Regions from separate parts of the Homo sapiens genome. Here all the other regions are linked to region 2. Evidence: promoter capture Hi-C in 16 types of primary human blood cells and fetal thymus (Javierre and others, 2016). All regions are on one chromosome and are shown on one strand. The core of a region is centred on a gene start or on the middle of the fragment in contact, and the rest is flanking DNA. Distances in the headings are between cores, read along the strand shown. Region 1 has its middle 160 kb from the start of LINC01833. Region 2 holds the start of LRPPRC (leucine rich pentatricopeptide repeat containing). Region 3 has its middle 23 kb from the start of SIX3-AS1.

The links. The method cuts DNA at HindIII sites, captures the fragments that hold promoters and counts their contacts. A CHiCAGO score of 5 or more calls a contact.
Region 1: a contact is called between a fragment that was not itself captured here and the fragment with the promoter of LRPPRC in region 2, in 1 of 17 cell types (total B cells). The highest score is 6.3, in total B cells.
Region 3: a contact is called between a fragment that was not itself captured here and the fragment with the promoter of LRPPRC in region 2, in 1 of 17 cell types (M0 macrophages). The highest score is 5.7, in M0 macrophages.

What each region holds. Positions count from the first base shown.
Region 1 is chr2:44,776,780-44,779,878 of GRCh38, forward strand. No RefSeq gene overlaps it. Among named protein-coding and RNA genes, the nearest start is that of LINC01833, 160 kb to the right of the region's middle. The HindIII fragment of the contact is 184 bases long and covers 1,298-1,481 here.
Region 2 is chr2:43,994,502-43,997,574 of GRCh38, forward strand. It overlaps LRPPRC (leucine rich pentatricopeptide repeat containing), which reads right to left and starts at 1,488. Exons shown (of 38, transcript NM_133259.4): 1 at 1,298-1,488. The coding sequence starts at 1,446. RefSeq lists enhancers at 1,039-1,690, 1,486-1,765 and a silencer at 1,066-1,385. The HindIII fragment of the contact is 4,663 bases long and covers 1-1,667 here.
Region 3 is chr2:44,962,894-44,965,966 of GRCh38, forward strand. No RefSeq gene overlaps it. Among named protein-coding and RNA genes, the nearest start is that of SIX3-AS1, 23 kb to the left of the region's middle. The HindIII fragment of the contact is 1,155 bases long and covers 1,238-2,392 here.

The DNA of each region.
Region 1 (3,099 bases), core at 140-2,639, 780 kb after region 2:
ATAAAATCCAATGGTAAAGCATATTTGCATTAAAATATTACGCTAACCAAGGCTGGTAAGAACTGTAAATTATTGGAGTGGCGTAATAGAGCATGAGATTTTTTTTTTTAAGACAGGCCTTCGGGGTAATAGCAAGGGTTGAGGCTCACGACAGTGCCAAATAAGCTTTAGACAGCATAATAGTCTGCAAAGAAAGCCACAGAGCACTAATGTGAAGGAAGAGCTGTCCACCACATGCAGCAAAAATCACCAAAGGTCATTTTATGGTAGCAATTGTGACATAAAATTGGTGGTCATGCTACATGTCTAATACTCAGCACAGCTTTATAAATGATGGGCCCCTAGCGATGGCTGTCATTAAGTGCTTTCATCATAATAAACTTTAAACTGTTGGCTTTATGAATCGCCAGCTAGCTTCAGCTGTTCGTTGGATGGAGCTTGCAGTGCCTTAAGTGTGACAAGACCTATTAGGAATTGCAACCATGTTTCAAGCGTACTTGGCTTCCCCACTCCTGGGGTGATTGCTGCCTATTAAACGGCGTCTGGGAAGATTTTCCTCCAGCAATCTCTGATCAAGAGCTTTTTTGGGCTTTGACCTGCATTTCCTTCAAGACTTTCTCTGAGGAGTTTTATAAGAGCAAAACTCCAGAGCATTTATAGCCACTTCTGATTAATACCTTTCCAGTTTTTCTAGCAACTCTCCCACTGCTGCATAGAGAAAAGCTTTCATTGTTCCTGAGGTGCTTATTTGTGACCTTTTTTCTGCTTCCTGATTCCCTCTAACGTGTTCTCTCAGTGAAATCCTCGGGGTGGAACCCAGACAGTTGGTGAAGTTGTTACAGCTGGAGAGACAGAGAAGGAAAGAGAGAGGCTGTTATATTTTTAAAGGATTACATGCAGAGCAGCCTGGCCCCGCCCATTTAAATACTAATGTGACGTCACCTGCCGCCCGCTGTACCAAACGCATCCTTAATGAGCCCTCGGTGTAAATTGAGCCGACACATAAAGATTTCATGATTCAAATTACACTTTCATTAACCTTTAGCATGGGAAGTCTTTTAGTTTCTATAAATCTTACAGTGGCTTACCGTCTGTCCTACTGATGTGAATAATAGATGTTCGGAGAATCACTCTTTAAAAACCAGTGTTATTTAATTTACAAGGGCTAAATACATATTTCAGACTCACTTAGCAAGAACTTTATTTACTTCTTGTTGCTTGTTCTGACTTTGAGGCCACCCCTCATCCTCCCACCCCGTTTTCTTCTGCTTGACTCAGATGTTTTGGAGATGGTAAAAGCTTTCAATGTCTAAGTCCCTGTCTTAATACTCTTATTTGTCTTTCTTTTAGGCTAAGTAGTGTCCTAAAGATAGTTCAGGGAATGTCTCAGGTGTGGACCATTACACAATTAAATTAGCAAACCTCAGAGGGCTTGGATTAGAACCCGGCAGGGAACACTTGGGGATTCGAGGGCAGAGCCAAGCTTTCTGAATGGCAGTGGCTCTCCCAGGAACAGCAAGGGTTGGCCCGCTTGGTAGTCTCAGTCACAGACTTGTCTTACCAGATAAAGTATTGCAGGCACTCTTTTTTTCTCCTGGGAGTGAACAGGAAATACATTAGTGAATGTGTCAAGCCGAAGGGAAAACAGGAGTTGGAGGGCTCGTGGCTTTTCACATACAAAGGCATCCGCCATCCCACCACGGGAGCCGGCCAAGGGTGGACAAGTGCATTTTGAGGCTGCTGCCCAGGTGCAAGGGGAGGGGGCGGGGCGGGCCGCAGAATGCCCCCGAACAAAGGCGCCTCCAGGGGCCTGTGCAGAGGTCACCTGCTGCCTCCAGGGCAGATTAAGGAGGACTGCAGAGGGCATTTGGAGGAAATGGTGCTGTGCTTCTTTGGGAAATCAATTCGTCCCACCCTTAATAGGGCATTTTGCCCTCCCTCTTTGGGAGTCCCAGGCGAACATGCTTCCAGGTCTCTCAAAATCAGTTATAACAGACCCACGTTTGAAGAGGCGGCACCTTTCCCTGCCTGCGTTCCTTCAATAGCCTGTGCCCCCTGAGAATCTCTTTCTGCTCTCTGCAACATCTCACTTCCCTTTTCTCTCTTCTTTGGGCTCCCCCGCCCCTCTCTACCGAGGCCTCTTTCATAATTAGGCTGAAAGTGGAACTTTCCCCCACTCCCTTACTTTGAGATTTCTTTTTTCCCAGTGACCTGGGCTGCACTTTGCCCCCACTCCCTGCCTGCCAATCTCTTCAGGGTTAGGGCCTCTCTCTTTCCATTCTTGCCGCTCCCCCTCCTTGAGAGCTCCGGGAGGCCCAGCCTCCCTGAATCCGATCGGCTTCCAACACAGCAGCCCCCCTGTGGAGGAAGGAAGAGGCCTCCTCAGAATGAATGGCTGGTAAGGAGGTTTTTAATTTGTCTGGAGCTACAAGAAAAAGGCCTCAGAGCAGCGTTCCCTCCCTCACCTCTGCCGCCCACGCTGGGCCACTCTGCCTTCCCGGTGGGCACCGAGGCCGCACCATCCCAGGCCAGGTCCATGGTGAAAGCTGGGCGGTGGGATCTGAAAATGTTGGCTTGTTGTCTGGGCATCACCTGTGCAATCTAGAATAAGGACTCGGCTTTGTATATGAAATTCTACTTTTTGATGGTTTGCAGCCTACCAATGTGAGAAAGGTAGAAGCTGAACACGATGTGACTGTCAGACTAGGTCGGAAAGTGAGCTCAGGCCATCACTGTCTTGATCTGCAGTCTGCCTTCTGATGGCCGAGCTCTCCTTGAGCTTCAGGGAATGTCACCATGCTGTTCCCAACCCAGAAGGCAGTACATTTAAAAGCTTTGCCCACCTGACCTATGGTTCCACCTCCAGGTACATTAGCCTTCATTTTCCTCCACAGGCTTTATTTTTAGGAGCAGAGGCCACATCCCTGATCCAGCCTACATTTTGAGTGGATCTCTCACTGTCCCTCTGTCTCTCTCTCAAGCAGCATCTCATGATGCCAAGCGAGAGCAAGTATGAAGCAGCTTGGAGGAGAATGAAGCCGCTCACAGCTTCTGAGTGTCCAGAGATCTTTCCTCTCTCCAGGGATACTCCTGGTTGGC
Region 2 (3,073 bases), core at 238-2,737:
TAGCTAAGGAAGCTGAGGCCTGGAGATGTTAAGTAACTTCTCTAATGGCATAATGCAGATAATTTGAGGATAAAATGCAGATAAATCTGGAGTAGGCTGCAGTCTGGGCCCAGCCTACTGCAGATCCCTGGCTCTCAGTCCTTACGCGAGCTCTCAAAGTACCTTAATTTACAAGCATCAGTCTTTCAAAATCATTTTTTCTCCAATGCTAAAAGCTCAGCACCTATCTCCCCTTCTCTGGTGGTCAGAATACTATTAATAACCAAATGAACACTTTCACCAACTTTTCTTTTCCCCTCCACTACAAAAGTCTATACCAAACCTATCTCTGATAAACCTCAAACCATGAGAGCATTTATTCGCCTATCTGACACCCACTTAGAGTTTAACTTGCCTTTGCATCCCCAGATTCCAACAGAGTGCCTTGCATGTGCTCATTCATTCAAAGACACTTACAGGACGGGAGCGGTGGCTCACACCTGTAATCCCAGCACTTTGGGAGGCCGAGGCAGGAGGATCGCTTGAAGTCAGGAGTTCGAGACTAGCGTGGCCAACATGGTGAAACCCAGTCTCTACTAAAAGTACAAAAGTTAGCCTGGCATGGTGGCGCACACCTGTAATCCCAGCTACTCGGGAGGCTGAGGCAGGAGAATCGCTTGAACCCGGGAAGCGGAAGTTGCAGTGAGCTGAGATCGCGCCACTGCACTCCAGCCCAACTCGCGCAACACCTTCTTAAATGCTGAAGGAAAACTCCATTCAAGAGAACGCAGGCAAAAGCCCAAAGTGATCATAATCCAGCGTCCAGCTTTAAGTCATCCGTGGCTCACCCAAACTCCCAACCCACTCCTCGCCGCCCCATCCCTCGCAAAAAGCTAAATTTCCAATATCTAAATGCTAGGTGGTTACTGATCACCAACGGTGACCGCACGTGGGACACCACCCAAGCTGGCCAAGTGTAAGGAAAAGACCACCACCCGACTTCCCAAAGCAGTCTTCAAAGCCCCCCTCATCTTCGTTGACCATGGGTACCCCGAGGGCAGTAAGGTCCAGGCTGAAGTGGCGGGGGCAGGATTCAAGCCGGAGGCAGGCCATGCCCACAGCCGTGACCTTCTGAAGGCGCTTAACCCTGTCACCCGAAAACCCCTGGTAGGGAGCGTGGTGCGGAGCCCGGGGAGGCTAGGTCCTGGGGCGGGGAGAAGGGTGGCGAGCACAGGCAGGACCCGGTCCCTGCCGGCACCCACGACCCCGGGGGACCCTGGCGCCGCAGCTTGCCTGGAGAAAGGGCCTGGGCACTCACCCGGCCACGGGCCCGGCGCGAGCGGCGGGCAGATAGGAGGCGGCATGCAGCCGGCCCGGGCCGCCAGGGAGGAGGCGCAGGGAGAGCGGGAGGCGCGGGGCCGCCCCGGCACGCAGCAACCAACGCGCGGATCTCAGCAGGGCTGCCATTGCTCGAACGTCCCCGCAGCGGGAAGCACGCTCCGCCAGAAGGACAGGAGGAGCATGTGACCGCAGGGTAGCCTGGCGCGGCAGAGACCAACTGCCGGGCGTGCCAAATGTGGGGGGAGCGACGGATTGTTTTAGGTTGGAAGATGGAAAACCGCACTTCTCCGAGGACAGAAGACCCAATGTAATATTTACATAAACGATGTTGCTTGATTCATTATCGAAGCTTTTCTTTTCCGTCTTCCGTCTCCGATCTGGGCATCGTGTTCATTCGCTGCACCCCTGCACTCCTCTGTTGGTAGAGCCGCAAGAGGTCAACTCCTCCCAGGTTGGCGCAGAGGCTTGTGGGAGGCCAACTAGTAAAAATACCGAGAACTCTCGAGGAGAGCCGACTATGAAGATCCCAGGACGTGGGAAGGTTTCCCCCGCCCCCGAGTGCAGATGTTGCTGCTAACGTTCAGCCCTGACGCCATGTCCAATAGGAACGGCCCTTCACTCTCAGAAACGCGGGCCGGAGAAACCGTGGAGGTCTTTTGCACCTTGCCGTTTGCCTCCCAGGTTCAACATGATAGGATGTGGATTATCAGGGCCTGGGAACAGTGTAAAGGAACGCGCAGGTCCCCACCCTAAGCGCGTACGCGGGGCCTCGCTTTAGAAAATAAATGAATTCTACCAAAAATCCTATAGTTTTAAAGCTGGAATTGAACTGACTCTCTTCCCCAACCCTCCACCCCTACCGCGCCTCTCCCTTCAGTAAATGCACATATACATGTGAGAAGTAAAAGAACAATGTAATTAAGAGTCTCCAGCCAAATATGGGGAGAAAACTGGCAAGTTAAACCCATCGCTGGCGAAGTGGCTCACGCCTGTAATCCCATCACTTTGGAAGGCCGAGGCGGGTGGATCACCTGAGGTCAGGAGTTGGAGACCAGCCTGGCCAACATGGTGAAACCCCATCTGTACTAAAAATACAAAAAATTAGCCGGGCGTGGTGGCGGGCGCCTGTAATCTCAGCTACTCGGGAGGCTGAGGCAGGAGAATTGCTTGAACCCGAGAGGTGGAGGTTGCAGTGAGCCAAGATGGCGCCATTGCACTCCAGCCTGGGTGACACAGCGAGACTCTGTCTAAAACAAAACAAAAAAACCACGTCGCTGCCTTCACAGGGCTTACAGACTGGATCGGTTCCCTGTGCACACGTGGGAAGCTGAGAACAGCCTTCCACTCCCTCTACACCTGCCTGTCCCCTACCTATCACGAGGCAAACGCGGCGGGTATTTCCTCTGGAAGCCCTCCCACGGTCATTTCCGAAGTGACTGTTTATCCCACTGGACTCCTTATCAGTTAATCCCACGAACTCCTTATCAGTAGGGACTGTGATCTCTTATTGTAGGCCATACACCTACCCAGTGCCAGACACACAGTAGGTCTCATTAAATATGTGTTAAATTAATGTCTATTTTGAGATGACCTAGCTCACCTCTCCTTTGAGAGATGAGGGAACGAAGACACCCGCTCCAAGCCCCCAAAAGAAACAAGGTGAATTGATTGACTCTGGGTTATATTACTGAGCACTGGGAATACAAGTTATTCACCTATTCAACACGTATTTATTGAATACATATCCAGTGCC
Region 3 (3,073 bases), core at 565-3,064, 970 kb after region 2:
GCATTCCCCACCCAGCTGACCTGATTATGGATGGAGGACAAGATGCTGCTGCTGCCAGCTTCCCCAGACCCCCAGACCATGCAGCACTTCCTGGCCTCAGACAGTTCCTCCTCTATGAAGATTTGTCCAATCAGAGCAGCCACAGGCTGCCCCAGCCTCTCTGTATTCACATCCTGGACCTTCCTGGCCTGACACCCTCAATTTTATACTGCATCTTGTTTGCTTCCATAAATGTCATCCTGTGTGTCAGATCACATGTCCCCCTTTTTTTGGTCTCAGAAAATAAGATTGTTATATTTACATTACTTCATTGAGTTTTATTTTGTGGAAGGCAGAGGGAGAGCGTAAGTAATGAGTTTGTTGTGTCTTGCTTTCCAACCCATTGTAGATTTCCTATTTTTTCTTTCCTGTTGTAAATGTTAATCAATCAATCTACAATCATGTATAATAATAATGCTTATACTTTCGGTTAGTGGCTCTGAGTTCTACTGACTTAAGTCCCATACACCCACCAGCCTGGAATTCCTTCCAGTGGGGCTACCCCACAGCTTTCTGGGGCACAGCCTTGCTTTCTCTCACAGTCTGGTCACTGTTGAAAAAAGCCGACATTGTCTTCTTGATTCAAATAGGCCTTCTGGAAAACATTATTCTGAACAATCTCACAAAGATCTATAAAGAGTTTTCTTTCTTTCTTTCTTTTTCTTTCCTTCTTTCTTTCTCTTTCTTTCTTTCTTTCTTTCTTTCTTTCTTTCTTTCTTTCTTTCTTTCTTTCTTTCTTTCTTTCTTTCTTTCTTTCTTTCTTTCTTTTCTGAGTTGGATTATCTTTCTGTCACCCAGGCTGGAGTGCAGTGGCATGATCTTGGCTTACTGCAACCTCCACTTCCCGGGTTAAAGTGATCCTCCTGCCTCAGCCTCCCAAGTAGCTGGGACTAGTGTGCCCACCACCATGCCTGGCTAATTTCTGTATTTTTAGTAGAGATGGGGTTTCATCATGTTGGCCAGACTAGTCTTGAACTCCTGGCCTTAAGTAATTCACCCGCTTCAGCCTCCCAAAGTGCTGGAATTACAGGCATGAGCCACCGCACCCAGCCAAGTGTTTTCAAAAATTGTGAACCAAACACCCAGCACCTTAAAGTATGTGAGAAGTTTAACATTCCACAATTAGACCACTTGATCTCCACAAGGGGGATACTGTGATCCCAGGAGAGCCTTGCCCGGGAAGCCTGGATTGTTCTAAAGCTTGGAAGTGACATCCCAGGTCCACACTGTAGGTTTCCTCTCAGCTCTGGGTCTGGGGGCCTTTGTCATGGCTGCAACTTGCAGAGAGGTGTCTTAGGACTGGGATGCCGCTGGCTGAGGCCCTCTTGAGGGTCCTTTTTCCCTTTCTACAGCCACATATTGGATTCTCTTATCGGAGCTTGGCAAGCTCTTCCCAGGGGATTTGCTGTTCCTGGCTACTTCCTCTCTTCCTCCTCTCCCCTTCCTTCTTAAGTCCCCACCCTCTTCATCTTCCTCTTTTCCCTTCTTCTCCCTTTTCTTTTCTTTCTTTTTTTGAGATGGAGTCTCGCTCTGTCGCCCAGGCTGGAGTGCAGTGGCATGATCTCGGCTCACTGCAACCTCCACCTCCTGGGTTTGAATGATTTTCCTGCCTCAGTCTCCTGAGTAGCTGGGATTATGGGCACACACCACCAGGCCCAGTTAATTTTTTTTTTTTTTTTTTTTTTTAGTAGAGATGGGATTTCACCATGTTGGCCAGGCTGGTCTCAAACTCCTGACCTCAGGTGATCCACCCACGTCGGCCTCCCAAAGTGTTGGGATTACAGGCATGAGCCACCAAACCTGGTGTTCTTCCCCCTTTTCTTGCCCTTCCCTCATCTGCCTTTCTGGACAGCCCCGCCCAGTGTTCCCTCTCCCTGGGGTCTGTGTTCCGTGTGACAGCCCCCTGCAGGTGGAGGAGCCAGCTCCCCATGTCCTTGCCTCCCCAGTGCTCCAGCCTCCCTGCCTGGCTCAGCCGCCTCGGCAGATGCAGGCACCCCCTGCATTGTTTGCTGTCCTGAAGACGAGCAGCTGCCGCACTAATTGCCACCAGCAGGGGGGCCGGGCTGTGCTCGCACTCCTCCTGCCGATTAGGGGGCGACAGGGGGGCGGTGGGGGGGGGGGCAGTTTTCAGGAGCCGAATGAGCTGAGCCAGTGTTGAGCATTATTCCAGGAATTTTAAACACTCGTTAAAGGCTTTGCCATGTCTCACTTCAGTACACATCATGCTCCAGTTACTGCTGGGAACTGCGGGGGCATCAGCCCGGGCAGCACTTATCAATATTTTAGCACGAGAAAGGCAAATGATGTTGAAACATTGAACTATATTTCCATCTGTTCAAACTGAAATGGAACAAGCTTAGCTCAGGAAATGGAATCTCTCCTCCCCAGCTGCCTTGGAAGCAGCAATACCCACTGGCCTGGCCTTGGCCCTTGCCTCAGTTTCCCCTTCACCTCTCTTCTCGATTAGTCCCCAGTGTTCATAGCTTATGGGCATGATATTGAGCAGGTGTTAGGTTTGTGGGTAGAGCAGGAGTGGTGGCACCTCAAAGAACCTGAGAGGGACCCCCGTTCTTGTTAAAACGTGCCTTCCCCATTGACTGACAGAGAACAGTGGGGTCAAATGCGGTCTGTCTTAGTGCCAGGGGACATCCTCTCCATCCCCTGCACGGGCCTGTTTCAGTGTCTCTGGACTGTCCGTCCTGCAGGAAGACCCAGGATGGCTGGCTGGATGTGAAAAGGAAAGCACTGACCATATACAGGTGGACGAACACCGTAAATACCACACACAAATAAAGCATTTATGGTAGAACCCTGTTTCCCCTGGAACAAAACAGAATTTATTGGCAGGAAAGAAACTTAAGAAATATTGGCATTCAGTTGTCTGGGAAGAACAGAGAAGTTTCTACAGTGTGGAAAGCAGGGTGGCTGATGTGGGTGGAGATGAGTCATCTCATGTGATTTAGGGGAGAGCCCATGGGATGTCTCCTCCAGCAGGGCCCCCAAAAGGCCTGTGGTTAACAGTATTCAAGGAAGA